3 separate regions of the Homo sapiens genome follow, and all the other regions are linked to region 2. The links are contacts of gene promoters, found by promoter capture Hi-C in blood cells and fetal thymus (Javierre and others, 2016). All regions are on one chromosome and are shown on one strand. The core of a region is centred on a gene start or on the middle of the fragment in contact, and the rest is flanking DNA. Distances in the headings are between cores, read along the strand shown. Region 1 overlaps LOC105369896 (a long non-coding RNA gene). Region 2 holds the start of MRPL42 (mitochondrial ribosomal protein L42). Region 3 holds the start of METAP2 (methionyl aminopeptidase 2).

Evidence for each region. Contacts are between HindIII fragments. The CHiCAGO score rates a contact against its expected background, and 5 or more counts as called.
Region 1: a fragment that was not itself captured here is called in contact with the fragment with the promoter of MRPL42 in region 2 in 2 of 17 cell types (fetal thymus and total B cells); the score reaches 8.8 in fetal thymus.
Region 3: the fragment with the promoter of METAP2 here is called in contact with the fragment with the promoter of MRPL42 in region 2 in 3 of 17 cell types (total B cells, activated CD4 T cells and total CD8 T cells); the score reaches 7.1 in total B cells.

Annotation. Positions count from the first base shown.
Region 1 is chr12:91,379,047-91,382,747 of GRCh38, forward strand. All of the region lies in intron 4 of LOC105369896 (a long non-coding RNA gene), which reads right to left. Among named protein-coding and RNA genes, the nearest start is that of LINC02823, 54 kb to the left of the region's middle. RefSeq lists enhancers at 1,846-2,679, 2,680-3,511. The HindIII fragment of the contact is 1,701 bases long and covers 1,535-3,235 here.
Region 2 is chr12:93,465,670-93,469,451 of GRCh38, forward strand. MRPL42 (mitochondrial ribosomal protein L42) reads left to right here and starts at 1,845. Exons shown (of 6, transcript NM_014050.4): 1 at 1,845-1,885; 2 at 3,523-3,686. The coding sequence starts at 3,617. RefSeq lists enhancers at 1,677-1,736, 1,797-2,066. The HindIII fragment of the contact is 2,939 bases long and covers 1,626-3,782 here.
Region 3 is chr12:95,472,647-95,475,934 of GRCh38, forward strand. It overlaps METAP2 (methionyl aminopeptidase 2), which reads left to right and starts at 1,506. Exons shown (of 11, transcript NM_006838.4): 1 at 1,506-1,684. The coding sequence starts at 1,534. RefSeq lists an enhancer at 1,323-1,722. The HindIII fragment of the contact is 1,745 bases long and covers 559-2,303 here.

The DNA of each region.
Region 1 (3,701 bases), core at 1,135-3,634, 2.1 Mb before region 2:
GATCCTATATTCACTCCTAACTGCAAGTTTGGAAGAGGTATGAGGAATTTGGGAGTGAGGCAAAGAGGCCACAATGTAAGGGAGAATTGAAATACAACTCGAAAGCCTGGCATCCATGAGGTGAGAGGAGAGCAGGAGATGCCAGAGTTACCCATTACTGACTTGGCTTACTTTACAGAACACAGGAAACTGTTGCTTCTAAGAAAATATCTATTTCATCATAAAAGAATTACAGCTCTTTTGTACATATGAATTTAGCCTGTTTTAATTTTGCCTGGCATTTTGGCTTTGCAAATCTTTAGGTATGAGTGCTAAAGTGTTATTCCAACCATTTCACTCTTTCCCAGTGAATGTTAGAACAATCACCTTTCGGTTAATAAACATGCAGTTTTTTACAACTACTATCACAAGTAACAGTTTAGTGTGTAGAAAGAATCAATGGTAAATTTTGGTGTTTCCAGTAGCTCAATATCTCATTTATCCTTTAGGTATCTGGCAAGCTGTCTTTCCCTTTTCTGGTCACCACTCCTCTGGGGATGTAGCCAAGTACAAAATTGCACATTTCTCCTCCCACAAGTGTCTCAGCTCCCACAGAAAACAAAATCTACATCAAGCATGTTTAAGATGATCTACATGTGAAGTAGAAAGGTTAACACACAAGAGGAGTAACAGACTCATTTATTTATTTATTTTTACCTTCAAGGAGTTTAAATACAAACACAGAGAGAAAACTGAAAATAAGCATGATTCTAGAATTTGTATTATTGTTATATATATATTTTTTAAGTAGATAAGCATAAAACTAAGGAATTGCTCAGATGACCAAGTCTGGAGCAAAAACATCTGACACAGGAAAGTGAGAAAATAAAATGGGGGCCTTGAGTAGAAAAATTTCAATGGGTTAATTTCTGCTGGCGTTCAACATGTTATGCCATAGCAAACAAATAAGAATCATGCTGGGTCTCAATTTATCAGATTCCTTTAATTTACTAAGACTGCATATTAAACTAAATTGTTAGCAGCTGGTTGACTACCTCAACCTAACTCAACTCCTGGGAGCAATTACAGAGCTTCTCAAAATCTGTCCCTGTGTGCATCAAATTGATGTTGGAAAGAAAAAGATACCTCTTTCTAAAGTACTTTATTTCAGCCTTTCAAATTCACCTTCTGAAACCTAGGTGACATTCCTTCTAAACACTGTATACGGTATTGCTTAAGACAAGGAAAGTTTTCCCCCAAAACTATTTGTGCTCCCTTCACTCTGGTAGAATTTTTGGTAAGTTCTTTGGCCTATGCCCACCATATACTAGGCCGCCCTTGCTCACAGAAGGCCACAGCAAACCCCTTCTGCAAGCCCACGATGGAATCGTAAATCTTTACAACTTATTGAAGTCTTCCAGATTTTTAAATATGCCCATGATCCAGACTTTTTGCTTGCATGTTTAAATGGTTGCCTGATGGCTTGCAACAAGAAGTAGAAAGGCATTTTTCTTAAAATAAGCAAACAACCATGGCAAATGAGGTCATATTCCCAAGCTTGAATAATAAATATTGCTAAAATCTACAACCTGAAACATATTTTAAGAATTAGACATAGATTTGGGTTTTTTCTTTCTTTTTCAGGAAGGGGTCTCCCTTGCTGCCAATAAAAATTGCTTTGTGTTGTAAAATTTGGGTTCAGCTTGTCTCCTCCTTATATAAGCCCAGTTGAATAGACTGCTGAGGGAAAATCAAAGTTTAAGAGCCTGGCTTTTCCCGTTTGGCAACTTTCATTTCCTGATAATATCGGATAATTAACAAATTGTGTGTTTTAATGCCCTGTCTCTTGAAGCGCATTTGGGAAAAATACTTCTTGTGCCCTCTGAGTAATGGCTTAAATGGAAGAACATGCTCAAAAGAATGCTTTTTCTCAATGCATGAAACACACTCAGCATTTATTATTTTAATTGCTACACATCATGTGTATACTCGTTCGTGTAATTATATACATATTTAAAGGGCAAGAGGAAAAGATTATTTTAGGACTCTATAATTCATTATGAGCAAGGCATTGAAAATTTCTAACTCAAGATGAAAATTCATAAAAATTCTTTGGCAAAAACACCTTAGTATTCTCAATACGGTAACTGACTTTTTTTTTTTTGCGTTATGAAATAACTAGATACTACCGTGCGTTGCTTTTGGATAAAAGGGGAATGCTGTTTCTTAGCCTTTCTGTCTCTTTACTAAATGGATAATTCAGGACTGGGAAATGCAGCTCTAAGTTTGTTGTTTACGAAAAACACATGCTAATGTAACAGCGTATGAGGAATTAAAGAGAAAATGTCAAACGCGCCTTGACATCCAAAATGCATTTAGCTGTTGGCTTTTACTACAGGGCCTTTCACTCTCCAGCCGACCCCCTCCAAGACCAAGTGTTTTTGCGTGTTGGGCTAAAAATAGCCAGCCAAGCCTAACAACTAGCTTCTGATTGGCTCAGAGCAAAGGCCACTCAGCCAATAAGAGCTTCTGGGAACAAAAGCAATTCTTTTGTGTGAGATACTCAACCCACGTCAAAACAGCTTCAGGCTGTAGAAATGATTTTGGTTGAGCTTTAACAAGGTAATAATGCATTTCAGCCCTCTGAAAGGTTTGAAGCGGAACAAAGGGAGTAGTGAAATCTACAAAACAAATGGAGCGCTCAAGGCTTTCATGGGATGAATCATCCGGGTGCCTGAGCTACAAACAGTTGCAAGCTCAGAAAAGAAAAAGCGCTAGGATTTTCTTTCTTTCTTCCTGAGATTTTAACTTATTTTTCAAGCGAAAAACAAAACAAAACAAAAACAAAAAACTAACGAAAAGCCATCAAAGGCGTTGTATCTTGACTATGCCCAAATTTGTTATTATGCTTATTTGATGATGAATAAAAAGCAATTCTTCCACGGTTCCCTTAAATCTCACAAAGAGAAAACAAATGTATGTGTAGTAGATAGTAGGTAGTAAAGCTCCCGAAACTTTGGGCTTTCGTTTTTGGGCACCAAAAGCAGCCCATGTTTTCAGAGTAAAGGCAGGTCTTGATTAATGCTGTGATAGTTCTCAAGGTAAGCAAATTACAGCAGCACTTGATTGGAGAAAAGCATTGAAGTTTTGGAGGTTTTGGCCACTTTCAAGGCATTGTGCCTCTAGGGGTCGCTGTTGGACAGCGGACGAACCTCTTCAGGGCATCCTTCCCCCTTTAATAGTCACTAAAAGAAGAAGCTTAGTAGGCGCCTTTCAGGTAGAACAAAAGGGAGTGGGGAGTCAGTGTTTGAGACCCTTGAGCATGGTTTATGGTCATCACTATGGGACAAAGCATCCCATAACAATGCAGATTACTTTATATGGAAATGAAATGCCATAAAGGACAAAATGTTGCTACAGTAACCACTGAAAATGTTACATAACACATAGGAGCTCATAGGCCATTTCATGGCCTTAAACTGGCTTTATTGTATGGAAAATAATTAAAAGATGATGTGGTGCTTTATAGGCTTCCTTTTTAGGAAACAGAAGGACCCACACTTTAACCTCTCACATAGGAAACCTGTATAGGTTACCAAGTCCTGAAGTTGGCAGAGAAATACAGGTCACAAACAGACTGTTCCCATGTTCTCCTCCCAGAAAACTATGGATTCAATGTAACTTTTTCCCTTGAATATAGCTTTTATGATAAACAATTAGTA
Region 2 (3,782 bases), core at 595-3,094:
GTCCAGAAAGACATCATGGGTGGCTTTGGAGGATGGACACGACTGGAAAGGACACAGATGGGCCCTCTGTGGGCTTCTATAAGAGCAAAGATTAGCCTCCTGATATTCCGTGGGAAATGAGGAGACACACTACACAGCCCGTATTTAGTTTTCTTTACTATGTGATGTGTGTTCACTTACTTTCAATACTAGTCACTTCAGGAATATGGTTCTTAACTTGTTGAGGGGTTTATCAATTCCCTGGAATACATAATAAAAGCTATAGATTATTTCTTAGAAAAATATACAAAAGCAAAATTTTGCAAATCATGGGAGAAGGGAATTTCCAGGCGACCGCTTCTGCTTTACCAGCCAATCATCTACTGTCTTGGATACTTGCAGCGTTATCTAGTCTTTTCATTCATTCAGCAAACACTTCCTGGAGACCTATAATGAGACCAAGCACAGTCTGAGATGCTGGGTTTGCATACAGTGAAGAACAAGATAGACATATGTCTCTGTCTTCAAGGAGCTTACATTATCCAGCATAAGAGACATTAAACGAGGTTGGGTGTGGTGGCTCACGCCTGTAATCCAGCCCTTTGAGAGGCCGAGGTGGGCATATCACCTGAGGTAAGGAGTTCGAGATCAGCCGGGCAAACATGGCGAAACCCCATCTCTACTAAAAATACAGAAATTAGCTGGGCGTGGTGGTGGCCACCTGTAATCCCAGCTAATTAGGAAGCTGAGGCAGGAGAATCGCTTGAAGCTGAGAGGCGGAGGTTGCAGTGAGCTGAGATCATGCCACTGCACTCCGGCCTGGGCGATAGAGCAAGACTCCGTCTCAAAAAAAAAAAAAAAAAGAAAGAGACATTCAACGAGCAAACAAATAATCAATATAAAGTCAGGTAATGGTAAATATTCTGAAGGAAAATAAAGCGGGGCATGGAATAAGGGTGGGTGAGGCTATTTTAATGGTGTGGTCCTTTCTAAGATGATATTTGAGAAAGACCTGTAAGGTCATGAGAAGAGGTCAGAGAAGCACATTGCTGGCAATGGGAACAGAGAGTGCAAAGGCCCAGAGGTCTTTCCTTCCTCCTAAGATGGAAAGCGAGGTCCAAGATTCTGCATATTTACTTCCTCCCATAATAGGTAGCCAGCACAGTTCTGAGGGCACAGTGCCAGGTTTTCAGAGTGGAGGTTCTCTTCAGGTTCTGATTTCAAACGTCCAAATCCTAGCCTCCACATTTCAGGGCTTCTCTGGAATGTCTCTTCCCCTGGGAAACTTTAACTCATCTACTAAAGAGCAATCTACGATTTCTCTGAATATTAACATAATTTTTTTAAAAAGTACTTATAGGTTTGCATGGTGGCTCATGCCTGTAATTCCAGCACTTTGGGACGCCGAGGCAGGAGGATTGCTTGAGACAAGCCTGGGCAACATACCGAGACCTCGTCTCTACAAAAATATTAAAAAATTAGCTGGGTGTGGTGGTGTGCGCCTGTAGTACCAGCTACTCAGGAGGCTGAGGTGGGAGGCTCTCTTGGGCCCAGGAGGTAGAGGCTGCAGTGAGCCGTGAGGGAGCCATTGCACTCCAGTCTGGGTGACAGAATGAGACTGCCTCACAAAAAAAAAAAAAAAAAAAAGCTTGTTACTTTCTAAGGGTATGTGTTTGGGGCAGTGATTTTGTTTTTCTGGGCACCTTAGTAACACTGCGGCCACGCTTCCCCAACTAAAGGTAAAAGTCCATAGCAACAATCCTCCCTTTCTCTCTGCACCCGGGCCGCTTTCCCGCGGAGACTACATTTCCCAGAATGCCCCGCGGGCTGGGACGGCGCGCGCAGCGCTGTTTCGTGGGACCAGGATTGAAACAAGATGGCGGGTTCGTGGTGAGAAGCCGTCAAGGTAACCGCTTCCCTCTACTCCTCCTGTCGAGGACTTCCTCGAAACTGGGCAGTCCCACAGTGTTGGTCGGCAGTTGTAGAGGTCTCCCGCCTGTCGTTCCCGGCAGGGCGAGGTTGCCTGCATCCCCAGCCTTTGTCCTTCCTGCAGAAGAGCCGGCATGTGGCTGCGCGTTTCTTATAGCGCCCCCTTTGTTCCCTGGCGGACGCCCGTGGGGAGGTGATGCAGCTTGTGGCTCTAGGGACTCCTTTAGGTCGAAGAGTTCTGGTGCTCTTGGTAGCCTGTTCCTCAAACCTCTGACCCTCAGAGGCTCTGTAGCTTTTGTTTTGGGGTTGAATTCCGGGCTGAGGGACTTGATCTCTGAAATGATCTTCCTGGGGTGAATAATCTGACTCCCAGCAGGGCGTGCTTTTCTCTGGGCTTCGGACAGAGGGGACCTAATTTCCCCCAAGATGTTTTATTCGTGGTCAGAAGTCATGGGTTTACGTCCCACGCATGTATTAAGCAGCGATATACTGAGCAAGTAATCGATTGACCTCTCTGAGCCTTTGTTCTTAATCTGAAATGGAGATGCTGCTTCACACACTTGTGAAAGTCAGAGCACATATTGTATATGAAAGTGGGTTGTAAACTAAAAAGCACACCTATGAGCTCAGGGTTAACGGTGTTAATGTACTGGCAGTGCAAGGTATCAGTGTGAGTGGTTTAGACTAGCAAATAAGAGGGCCTGTGTCCTAATTCTCTTTTATCACTATTGGGGGGAAGGGCACGGATACTCATTGAAGACTATTAAAAACAAGATTTAACAATGGTTATTTGTCATTTATTCACAACAGGCCATGAAGATTGTGGTTTTCCCCATTTTGTCATTGGAGAAACTGAGGATCGTTTAGTTAATGACTTGTTTAAAGTTTCCCAATTTGGCAGTGACTGACTCTAAAGTCCTTGGAAGCAAGACGTTTAAATTTTGTACTTTAGTTTCTTCATGAATCAGAATAAAGATACCTCACATGATTAATACGAGAGCAAAATGAAATGGTGGTGAAAGTACGTTGGAAAGTTAAAGACTTTGTACACATATAAGATGGTGAAATTTTATCTGGGACTTGAGGGCATTTATGAGTTCCTCCAATTGAGTAATAGGCTAAGGATAGGCCTTGTTTGATATTTCTTTATTATTATTATTATTATTAATGGCTCAGGGCAGACAACTATTTCATTTAATCAGAAACAGGATAGTACTGTAAATGATGTAGTATCTTGTGTATGGAACCTTGGAGGGTGTACACAGCCACACTAGCATTAAAAGAATGAATACTCTGTGTACCATTTGTGAGTGACTGTTTCAAGAGTAATTACACATTTACTGAGTATTCATTAAGTGGAAGGAGCTGCACTGGGTCCTGCAGAGAAGTTTGTATCTAAGATAAATAGTAATGGACATAGTTCCAGTGGTTCTGATCTTATATTCTGTCCATGTCGCTCTTCGTCCTGTTGTTCAATCATGTGGAATTGCCAAGTTGTTTAAAAGCATTGCTTCAGTTGACTTCTAGGCAGTGATTCTTACCTTGTTCTTGTGGTGTTTAATATAACTTAAATTTACCATAGGTAGCACTGATTTTTCTTTATCTCTTCAGCAGGAGTAGAAATTGGTATGCTTAGAAGCAGATTCTAAAAGCAGTTTCTCTTCAGAACATCTTTTTTCATACCACTTGATAAGCATCTTGAAACACCATGGCTGTAGCTGCAGTAAAATGGGTGATGTCAAAGAGAACTATCTTGAAACATTTATTTCCAGTCCAAAGTAAGTGAAATTTTTTTTAATGTTTAAAAACTTTTAAACTTTTAAGAATTAAGAAAATTTAAAGCATTTAGTTATTGTATATGCCTGTAATTTGCA
Region 3 (3,288 bases), core at 256-2,755, 2.0 Mb after region 2:
TTTTTATTTTTTATTTTATTTACTTTTTTGGGGGGGATGGAGTCTCGCTCTGTCGCCCAGGCTGGAGTGCAGTGGCGCAATCTCAGCTCACTGCAACCTCCCCCGGGGTTCAAGCGATTGTCCTGCCTCAGCCTCCCTAGTAGCTGGGACTACAGGCGCCTGCCACCACGCCCGGCTAATTTTTGTATTTTTAGTGGAGACGGGGTTTCACCATATTGGCCAGGCTGGTCTCGAACTCCTGACCTTGTGATCTGCCCACCTCGCCCTCCCAAAGTGCTGGGATTACAGGCGTGAGCCACAGCGCCCGGCCGGTTTACCAACTTTTATATTGCCAGCAATCAACTAGGGAAAACAATTTAAAATCTAAATAGGGATAGATTTAAAGAGATAAAGATCTGTACAAGAATAAGAGGAACAGTTTTTATTACTATTGGATAGGTGCTGCCTGAAGCTTTAAGACAGAGAATGTACATTTATGCAGCTGCAGTCAGAGCCTGTGTGAGGTTTACTGTAAACTCACTGGCAATAAGGCTCTTAACGACATTTTGATGCCCATGAAGCTTGGTGCCTAGTTTAAAACTAATGAAAACACCTAAACTCTCCAGGTGGACAAAGCCATATTCAGGAGAAATTGAGAAGGAGTTGGTGCAGGCAGCCAATCACAATCCACTTACGCCACAAACTAAATCTCAAACTGCGGTTTGAACATGAGGCTCAAAACATAAGAAGTAAAGAAATGGGCAAAATTCAATTAGTTTCTGGTGAAACGTCCTAAATCCAAAAGAAAGGTGACCAGAAATAGAGAAAACGGAGTGTGATCTTTTGCATTAATGAGAGAGACCGTGTCCCCGTGTGTTAAAACCTGTCATTCTTGTCCTGAATTGGAAAGTGAGCGGAGTGTGACGGGTTCCCATCTTGAACCGTCCGGGGTTGAGTAGTACAATAAACTAACACGGAACTCCAGCTTCCAAAATTCTCTCCAGTGCCTACAGAGCCTCGCGGAGAGCTGTGATTGTGAATGTCAACGCAGATTTGATTAAATCTCTTAGATTTAAGAGATATGTGGAGTCATGACAATAGAAATGTGTACAAGTGAACACATTTCTTAGCCCGTTTCCCCACTGCCTGTGTGATTTATAAAAACGCAAATATAAAATATTTCCGTTCCAGCAGAGACGCCGCTTGCTACGGCGGGTTGCCCGTCTCCACAGGTATCTCCGGCTGACTCTAGAGCTCAACTTCCCCTTTAAACTTCACCCTGCGCTTGCCGATTTGCTTCGGGAATGCCCGAGGCACCGGACGAAGCAGTCGGGTCTGGCCCCAGTCGACTCCAGCCAGGCGGGGCTCCAAGCCGAGACTCCTGCACGCCCGGCCCGAAGCTAGCCCGACACCCTCAGCTGAGTCCTCCGCCGTCCCAGCATTCCCTGCGTCCCTACCATCGAGAGCAGCTTCCGGCGTGGCTGGTGTAGGCGGGTGGAGAAGGATCGGGGCCCTCGCCGCTCTGTCTCATTCCCTCGCGCTCTCTCGGGCAACATGGCGGGTGTGGAGGAGGTAGCGGCCTCCGGGAGCCACCTGAATGGCGACCTGGATCCAGACGACAGGGAAGAAGGAGCTGCCTCTACGGCTGAGGAAGCAGCCAAGAAAAAAAGACGAAAGAAGAAGAAGAGCAAAGGGCCTTCTGCAGGTAAAGAGAGTTTTATGTTTTCCCAGTCCCCTCCGGGAACGGCTGAACTGTTTGGCTCAGGCCCGTTGAGGGGGCCGGGACCGGGGCCCCAGAGCCCCGACTAGACTGATTCTTGGGCCTGACAGGGTGGCAAAGCCGGGCTATAGATTCCTAGTCTGAGAAGAGGCGTCATCTCCTCCTGTGGGACTAGAGGGCTGGTGGGGGAGAAAAGAGTGCCTGAGGTTGGCGTGTGGTACCTCTGGGGTCGCTGGGCCCGAGCCCCTGTATTACCAGAACTCAGCTCCCACGCACATCGTGGCACGGTCTTGAGATTGTGCGCAGAGCACAGCCCTACCATCTTTCGCGCGATTTGGCCGCCGCCTCAAAAATCCGATTCTGATCCGTATTGCCGCGTCTTTGCTGGTTTGCTGGAGCAAGCTAGGACTTATTTTCTTTGGGGGTGGGCAAATGTAATGGAGAGCACACCTCCTCCCACTATCCCGTTTCACGTTGGGGTTGTTGCAGCCTGCACTTTTGGGGTGTGTGTACATGTGTGTTTGCCCGCGCGCTCATGTCATTAATTGCAGAATTTGTGGTGGTGATAACGAATTTTCACCTGCCTAATCCCATAGCATCGCCAAGCTTTAGGGCCTTTAGACCTGAATTATGATACCAATTGCAGGCAGTGCAGATAGGATATTCTGTGGCTCAGAATGGAACTTCTGAGGTCTTAACCTCTAAATCCACTGGTAAGGCAAGGAGAACTGCTGAGAGTTTACAGTTGGATATTATGAACTAGGAACTTACATATTTTGAGAAGTCTGTGTTTTTGCTGCACAAGCTCCTTCACCTTAATAAAAATTATTTTTACTTGTTTCTAATTAAAATCGCCAGAGAAACAGAAAATGGAGAAGTCAGAAGCGATTAAGATGGAATTGAGAGAGGTCGAAGAGAGCTAATCTTCATCTTTCTGAAATTTTGATTAGATAGGAATGGAAGGAGAGTTGTAGCGTTGCTGGAACTCTTCCAGAGCAAAATTTGTTACTCTGGTGGCTGTTCCTGGATTTCGAGTGAAATTCAAACACTGCTGTTTGTCTTGTAAGGTGTTAAGCTGACTGATCCTAATGTATTTTTAACAGTTGTATTTCTTAATATGAATTCTCTCCAGTAGCCAGAATGTCACTTCATTTCGTGCTACCTGATACTATTAATGCATGTAACATATTGCTCTTATAGGTAGGTTATAATCACTTCCAGAGCAGGGGCCTGGTCTTGTGCTTAGATATTTGAGCGTTTTAGTTTTTTAGTAATGGACTGTCTTTGCCTATTTATTTTGACTTTACCCAGCCCATCGTGATATCCTTATTCATGAAACCAGGCTGCCCCGGGGTGTTGCACATGAATCTTTTTCCTAAGGCCTTCAGCATTTATTACCTATCTGGTGTTTAAGTATTTGTTAAGTCTAATTGCTGACCACTATTACAAGTTAAACTACTTGAGGATAGAGACCAGTTCACGCTGTTTATCTTTTAGCTGCTAGTGTGTGTAATGGATATTTTGTTGAGTAAATTAATGAATGGACAATACTGTGTAGGTATGGAAGATTTTTCTGTCATTAAACGAAT